Linked DNA regions of Homo sapiens: regions 1 and 3 are each linked to region 2. Evidence: promoter capture Hi-C in 16 types of primary human blood cells and fetal thymus (Javierre and others, 2016). All regions are on one chromosome and are shown on one strand. The core of a region is centred on a gene start or on the middle of the fragment in contact, and the rest is flanking DNA. Distances in the headings are between cores, read along the strand shown.

Evidence for each region. The method cuts DNA at HindIII sites, captures the fragments that hold promoters and counts their contacts. A CHiCAGO score of 5 or more calls a contact.
Region 1: a contact is called between a fragment that was not itself captured here and the fragment with the promoter of IL17RA in region 2, in 1 of 17 cell types (endothelial precursors). The highest score is 5.3, in endothelial precursors.
Region 3: a contact is called between a fragment that was not itself captured here and the fragment with the promoter of IL17RA in region 2, in 1 of 17 cell types (M2 macrophages). The highest score is 5.5, in M2 macrophages.

What each region holds. Positions count from the first base shown.
Region 1 is chr22:17,461,007-17,463,706 of GRCh38, reverse strand. The region is part of intron 1 of CECR2 (CECR2 histone acetyl-lysine reader); the gene reads right to left. Among named protein-coding and RNA genes, the nearest start is that of CECR2, 93 kb to the right of the region's middle. The HindIII fragment of the contact is 2,231 bases long and covers 287-2,517 here.
Region 2 is chr22:17,083,721-17,086,420 of GRCh38, reverse strand. IL17RA (interleukin 17 receptor A) reads right to left here and starts at 1,421. Exons shown (of 13, transcript NM_014339.7): 1 at 1,192-1,421. The coding sequence starts at 1,329. RefSeq lists silencers at 639-888, 929-1,028, 1,279-1,398, 1,419-1,638 and an enhancer at 2,192-2,361. The HindIII fragment of the contact is 13,521 bases long and covers 1-2,700 here.
Region 3 is chr22:17,527,542-17,530,241 of GRCh38, reverse strand. The region is part of intron 9 of CECR2 (CECR2 histone acetyl-lysine reader); the gene reads right to left. Among named protein-coding and RNA genes, the nearest start is that of SLC25A18, 35 kb to the left of the region's middle. The HindIII fragment of the contact is 2,175 bases long and covers 274-2,448 here.

The sequences.
Region 1 (2,700 bases), core at 153-2,652, 380 kb before region 2:
CGACGTCAGCAATGAATGTCAAACAGGCAGCGCAAACTTAACAGAACCAAACCGAGCTTTGGATCTCACCTCTTCAAACCTGATTCCCTCTAACTCCCCAGTCTCAGTAAATGGCATATTTCTCCAGCAAAAAATTGAGGCATCCTTGACTCTTCCCTTTTTCTCTCTTTTCACATCTAGTCAATTAACAAATCCTGATGACTATATTCAAAAGAGATTCAGAAACCCCTCTCTTCTCACACCATCTCCATGGCCCATTTGTCTGAGCTTCATCCATTTAAAAGCTTCCTCACCAAACTCCCTGCTTCTCTCTGTCTGCTCCTCATATCAACAGCTAGTGAGCCTTCGAAACGTGAGTCAGAGCATTCCACCCCTTTGTACCAATGTCTCCTTTAGAACTAAATCCAAAGTTTATATGACCTCTAAGACCTCACCTGTCAGCCTCCTGCTGACACGCTAACATCGCTTCTCACTACTCTCATCCTTGATCACCTCCCTAACTCATACTGGCCTCTTACCTGCTCCTCAGATACACTCAGCACTCCCGGCTGGGGCATCTGCACTAGGTTCTGCCTGGAATAGCCTCTCCCTCACTTTCTATAGGTCCAGTCACTGTCTCGTCCCTCTACTCTGCTTTATTTTTCTAACTAACCTACCAGCTATTGATTATATGCATTTATTTTCTGTCTTCCACCATTATTAAGCAAACCCCTTGAGGAGCTTTGTCTGCTTTGGGTTTGTGGCTGTTTCCCCAAAATTGTATTTGCCCACAGTGAGTATTTAATAAATTTTTTTGAGACGGAGTCTCGATCTGTTGCCCAGGCTGGAGGGCAGTGACACGATCTTGGCTCACTGCAACCTCCACCTCCCAGGTTCAAGCAATTCTCTGCCTCGGCCTTCTGAGTAGATGGGATTACAGGTGCTCGCCACCACACCCAGCTGATTTTTGATTTTTAGTAGAGATGGGGTTTCACCATCTTGGCCAGGCTGGTCTTGAACTCCTGACCTCGTGATCCACCCGCCTCGGCCTCCCAAAGTGCTGGGATTACAGGCGTGAGCCACTGCAGCTGGCCTAGGACAGGCAGGTTTTGATGACCTAAACTTCTCACCGGGACTTCCAAACTGGTTCCCCATATCCAATACAGACTAAACCTCTGCCCAATTAAATTTGCTTAAATTCAATTCTGACAATATTGCTTTCGTGTAGAAGCCTCCAAAGACTCCTCGCAATTCATCAGATTAAGTCTGTATCCTGAACTTAACATTCAAAGCCTCCCCAAATGACCTCAACCTACACCTTCTCAGTATTATCTTAAGATCTTTATCTTTTTTTTTTATTATTATTTCAGATGGAGTCTCGCTCAGTTGCCCAGCCTGGAGTGCAGTGGCACGATCTTTGCTCACTGCAAGCTCTGCCTGGGACTACAGGCGCCCGCCACCATGCCCAGCTAATTTTCTGTATTTTTAGTAGAGACAGGGTTTCACCGTATTAGCCAGGATGGTCTCGATCTCCTGACCTCGTGATCCGCCTGCCTCGGCCTCCCAAAATGCTGGGATTACAGGTGTGAGCCACCGCGCCCGGTCAAGATCTTTATCTTTAAAAAAGTAACAGGTACTGCCGAGCATGGTGGCTCATGCCTGTAGTCCCAGCACTTTGGGAGGCCAAGGCGGGTGGACCACGAGGTCAGGAGTTCGAGATCAGCCTGACCAACATGGTGAAACCCTGTCTCTACTAAAAATAAAAAAATTAGCCGGGTTTGGTGGTGCGCACCTGTAGTCCCAGCTGCTGAGGAGTCTGAGGGAGGAGAATCACTTGAACCCTGGAGACGGAGGTTGCAGTGAGCCAAGGTTGTGCCATTGCACTCCAGCCTGGGCGACAGAGCGAGACTCCATTTCAAAAAAAAAAAAAAAAAAGTAACGGGTACTTCCCAGTCTTGACTCATGTTGTTTCTTCTGTTGTCATAGGCATGGTTTCTTCACTCCCACCCAATCCCATCGCAGAGGAAAAACATGGGAAACATCTGGAACGAAGACTGACTTCTGTGTATTCTGGTGCACAAAGGCTTGCCCATGAGAAGGGCTCACACACTTGGGCTCACTGGAGAATGCTAATTGCTTTTACCTGGATAAATTGGTCTACTGATAACGAAAGCCATCAAACTCCTCGCCAGGAGTTTCAGGAGAAAGTGCCTAGCAAATGATGGTAAATTCTAAATGAGTCCTAACCCCAACAGGAAGTACAGATGGGGTGGGAAATATAGGGAGTTTGTTGTATCTATTTTTCTGCCTGAGGCATCCACCATCTTTGAATACTTGAAAGAGAATGGGACTTGAAAAATACTGTCTCACAAACAGAATATTTAAAAGAGGATAAAGGAAATAACTTTCTTAAAAAAAATCACCATTGTTTTAGGAGACTGGTGGGAATCAAACTTAATATCAGTAAGTTGTGTATCAGCAGTTGCTTTGGATAAAAAAGAATAAACTCTGAACCAACAGAGAAAGAGAAGAGAAGCTTTCCTCATATCAGATTGACTAGGACCTACAATAAACAGAACGTCCCATTTCTACAAATAAGAGCTGCTACAGCTGCTGGCAGAGCAGCACGACCGGGGAAACCCATCGCGGTAATGGGTGATTCCCTGATGCTGCGAATTAGGGAAGCAACCACAGGATTGACAGGTCTACAAAGAGACACAC
Region 2 (2,700 bases), core at 172-2,671:
GGACATTTCTCAACATCATTCACGATAAAAACATCTTTTTTTTTTTTTCTGCGACATAGTCACTCACCCTCCACCTTCTTTCGGTAAATCCTCCATAAAACTACATAAGGAGAAATATCCCTTTGTTTTACATCCTCTGACTCAGATACTGAGCATTATTCCTTGGGGTCAGCGGTGGAGGTGGAGGTGGAGGTGGAGGGGAGGAAAGATCCCCTCGGGGATGCGGGGAAGAGGAGAGTATATTGTGGAGGGGCACGGCGTTTTGCTCTTTTTTTGTTTTTTTCCTTAAGATGGTCCTGGCTCACAGAAAGGCCACTACCCGGCAGGCGGGTGGGTCACTTCCTGTGGGCGCAGCGGGGCTACGACTTGACAGCTACAAACGTTCGACCCTCCGACTGCGCTCTCACCGGGTTCCCAGACCCAGGTGGTGGTAGTCGGGGGTGGGAGTGGCGGGAAGGGCGCCGTCTTAAGAACCATCTGCCCATCCTCAGGGCTTCGCGCCTCTGGGGAGGTGGCCCTCAGCCGCCCTCGGCAGAGCTCTCCCCGAAACATGGTGCCGCGTCTCAGCGCTCCGGCCCCCGCGTGGCTCTACGACAGCGGGGTCCCTCTGGGGGCCGCGGGTGAGGGACTCCACCTTCCGCACGGACGACGTGGGCTCGCCCGGCTCCGTCGGCGGCATGAAGGGCACGGCTTGAGGGAAGCTCCCGAGGGCGCGATGGGCCTCCCGAGGGCCGACCGTGCCCCGCCGGGGTACGTGAGGGGCGCAAGGCGTGGAGCTGGGTCCAGACCCGTCCTGGCTCCTCCCCGGGCCCCTTCTCCACAGCCCCTTTCTATCAGCCCTGGCCGCCCCTCCGGCCTGGCCCAGCGCCGCGCCCTCCTTCCCCGAACTCCGCGGCCCGGGCGGAGGTGTCACTCCCGCCTCCAGTCACGACGGCGGGCCAGGTTGTGCAACACGCGCCGCGCGATGTGCCACCCACCCCCCCCGTATTCCACACCGCAACTCCCACCGCTCCGAGGGTCCTCCCCAGGCGCCGCGATATCTGTGCCCAAGGCTCTGAGCCCCTCTAAGCCCGCGGCGCGGACTTCCTGCCTCCCCAGCCCGGGCGCGTAGTCCCGACCGTCCGGCCCTCCGCGACCTTGCCCCGCGTCCGCAGCATCCTGGCGGCTACCGCTCCCCACGTCGAGTCTCACCGGCTGGGAGCAGACCAGCGCCCGGTGGTCCAGGAGTCGCAGGGAGGCGCCACCCGGGGCCAGCACGCCCAGGAGCAGCAGGAGCAGCCCCAGCAGGGGCCCCGGGACAGCGGACGGCGGGCTGCGTGCGGCCCCCATGGCCCGGCTGGCGTCGCGGAGGGCTCGGCCCCGGCTGGGGACGCAGCGAACGAACGTTCTGAGGCTTTCTTTTCCGCGGTGGAGTTCGAGTCGGCTCCACTTTGCTCGCTTCCGGCTTCCAGCCCGGGCCCAGGGGCGGGCCGGGCCGAGGGGAGGAGTTTAGTCTGGGACGGGGAGGGGTTTAGGGTGAGACAGGGCCCTCCCCCCGTTCCTCCTTGCGCCCCTCCTCTCGGCCCTACGCTCAGTCCTCCGGGCGTCCCTACCCAGTCCTTCCGGCGTCCCTCCCCGGCCCTCCTCCGCCCGCGCGCCCCAGGTGCGCTCCTCCCGCTGCTCCTGGGCCTGGCCCGTCGCGCCTCCAGTTGCACCCGCGTCGGGCTAGCGTCAACTCCAGCTGGAGCCTCGCCTGCCCCACATGCACCCTCCACCCTGGCCGTGCCGCAGCAACTGTCGATTTTAATCCTCCGCCCCCACTCACTTGATTCTTGGCCCTGTTCAGACTTCTTGCTTCTCTTGTGGGTCACTGGACGTGAAATCCCAACTTGGGATTTCAGGAAGTCCGTTTTCTTAGTCTCTGTCCCTTTTATTTTTGTTTTTTATTTTACTTTATTTTTAGACAGGGTCTCCCTCTGTCTCCCAGGCTGGAGTGCAGTGGTGCAACCGCAGCTCACTGCAGCTTCGGCCTCCCGGGCTCAAGCGATCCTCCTGCCTCTGCCTCCTGAGTAGATGGAAGCGCGGGCCATATCCCATTTTATTGTCCCCACCCCTTTGCCTGGTTCTGCTCGCTCTGCTTTCCTTGGCTTTGCTTTCTCTTTCTCAAGACAAGGACAGCTCCGGGCTCCAGGGAGGATGGGACAGCAGTCACTTCCAGCCTCCTGGCTCGGACTCGGGGACACTTGAGTTCCTGGAGGGCAGGCAACTTACCTGGTCTGTGAGACTGTGTCCCAGCCGCACCTAAGAGAGTCGTTACTTCCCAGAGGCTCACTCCACGGCCGCGGAAGCTGTCGCCAGCGAATTACACATTTCATGAGTCTCCTTCTTAGCACGCGTGCAGCCTGCGTCCTCTCCTCTCCGGACCCTGGAGGACCCTCCCAAGCCGGCCCGCGCTGCCTCTATCCTAGGTTCCTGCTTCGAGCCCGTCCTGCCCTAGTGCATCCACACGCTCCTGCCCATTCGCCTCTCCTCTCTTCCTCCCAAGACCACCACCGTCCGCTTTTCCTTGCCTATCAAGTGCGCCTCTGCCTGGCCTTGACACGCACGGAGTCTACACTCAAGTGGCTTTTCCCTGTATTTTCCACTGCCCTCGAGAGGTGGGTTTTTTCGCTGCCCGAAGCACCCGCTGACCCCCAGCGACATCTCTATGAGCCCCGCCCG
Region 3 (2,700 bases), core at 112-2,611, 440 kb before region 2:
AACAACAACAACAGCAGCAACAACAAAAGTATGGGTAATGTAACATTACAGGAGTTTTGAAAAAAAAAAAAAATTCAGGGAACTCCAAGATGAGTGACCATCAGCACTGTTGAGATGCTAGAATATAAATACCAGCATACGACAGAGGAACTATTTACAGGTAGATCTTCACATCATTATGAAATTTCTTCTCAGTCATTCCCAACACAAATATTACTCATTATGTTAAAAGGACCTGCAGAATAAAATCCGCTTAGAATGTCACACAAAGCTTGTTTCTCTGAATAAACTGTTGTAATTTTTAAAAGTGTCTGATTAGTACATAATTGATTATTTCTCTTTTTTTGTAGTTGGAAGCTACTAAAAAGTCTGGAAAAGGTTATTGTAAGTATCTTATGGCTTACAAAAATTCCTTCCATAAGAACTATCATGGGAGGCAGAGCGAGACTTTGTCTCAAACAAAGAAAACTATCATTTGTGACTTTAAATGTGTGTCAGAGACTGTCCTGTTTTCATTTAATCCTTCCTTTTTTTTTTTTTTTGAGACGGAATCTTGCTCTGTCGCCCAGGCTGGAGTGCGGTGGGGCGATCTCGGCTCACTGGAAGCTCCGCCTCCCGGGTTCACGCCATTCTCCCGCCTCAGCCTCCCGAGTAGCTGGGACTACAGGCATGTGCCACCACGCCTGGCTAATTTTTTGTATTTTTAGTAGAGACGGGGTTTCACCGTGTTAGTCACGATGGTCTTGATCTCCTGACCTCGTGATTCGCCCACTTCGGCCTTCCAAAGTGCTGGGATTACAACCGTGAGCCACGGCGCCCAGCCCATTTAACCCTTCTAACAAGGTCTGCACAGCCCATCCCAATGCGACCCTGGGCTACCTGGTAGGACTCAATTCATGCCCAGCCAGCCTTCCTGTGCTTGCTCTGCTCTGCTCCGCTCCAGCCGCGCCGGGACTTCCAGCCAGCCTTCCTGTGCTTGCTTTGCTCCCCTCCGCTGCAGCCTCGCCCTGGACTTCCTGCTGCATATCCCTGCCTCCGTGCCTCTGCTCTTGTCTGCACTGCGCCTTCCGCTTCAGGCACTCACGGGTCAACCTCATTCACTTTATTTAAATGTCAAATCTTCAGAGAGGGCTTTCTTTTTTGTCTGAGACAGGGTTTTGCTCTATCACCCAGGCTGTGTTCAGCAGGGGAAATCAGCGCTCACTGCAGCCTCGATCTCCTGCGCTCAAGGGGTCCTCCTGCCACAGCCTCCCAAGTAGCTGGGACCACAGATGGAGCCACCACGCCCAGCCATGTCACTCTTTACCTGTAAACCTGCCTAATTTTACTTCAGATCACTCACCACTATTATCCCACAATATTTGTCTACTCTCCACCTTCTCACCACTGGAATGAAAATAGTACTTCTGGCTGGGTGTGTGCTCACGCTTGTATTCCCAGCACTTTGGGAGGCTGAGGCAGATGGATCACTTGAGGCCAGGAGTTCAAGACCAGCCTGGCCAACACGGCAAAACCCCATCTCTACTAAAAATACAAAAATTAGCCGGGTGTGGTAGTGTACACCTGTAATCACAGCTACTTGGGAGGCTGAGGCATGGTAATCACTTGAACCTGAGAAGTGGAGGTTGCAGTGAGACCAGATCATGCCACTGCACTCTAGCCTGGGCAAAAGAGTGAGACTCTGTCTCAAAAATAACAAAAAAGAAAAGAAAAGAAAAAAAAAGCCATACTTCTCTGCTGTGCTATCAAATGCCAGATCATATTCATTCATAATAACTATTTTTTTTGTACCCATTAACCATCCTACCTCTCCCCAACCCTCCACTATCGTTCCCAGCCTCTGGTAACCATCCTTTTCCCCTCTATCTCCACGGGTTCAATTATTTTGATTTTTAGATCCCACAAGTAAGTGAGAATATCCAATGTTTGTCTTTCTGTGCCTGTCTTATTTCATTTAAAATAATAACCTCCAGTTCTATCCATGTTGTTGCAAACGACTGCATCTTTCTGTTTTTATGGCTGAATAGTACTCCCTTGTGTATCAGTACCACATTTTCTTTATCCATTCATTTGCTGACGGACACTTAGGTTGCTTCCAAATCTTGGCTATTGTGAACAGAGCTGCAAAAAATATGGGAGTGTAGTTATCTCTTCAATATATTGATTTCCTTTCTTTTGGGTGTATACCCAGCAGTGGGATTAATAGATTTTATGGTAGCTCTCTTTTTAGTTTTCTAAGGAACATCTAAGCTGTTCTCCATAGCGGGGGACTAATTTATGTTCCTACCAACAGTATATGAGGATTTCCTCTTCTCATTCTCACCAGTATTTGTTATTGCCTGTCCTTTGGGTATAAACCATTTTAACTGTGTAAGATGATATCTCATAATAGTTTTGGATTTCCATTTCTCTGATGATCAATGATACTGAGCACTTTTTTCATAAGCTTGTTTGCTTTTTTTTTTTTTTTTTGAGACAGAATCTTGCTGTATTGCCCAGGCTGGAATGAAGTCTTGGCTTGATCTCTGCTCACTGCCACCTCTGTCTCCCAGGTTCAAGCAATTCTCCTGCCTCAGCCTCCTGAGTAGCTGGGATTACAGGCGTGTGCCACCATGCCTAGCTAATTTTAGTATTTTTAGTAGAGGCAGGGTTTTGCCATGTTGGCCAGGTTGGTCTTGAACTCCTGATCTCAAGTCATCT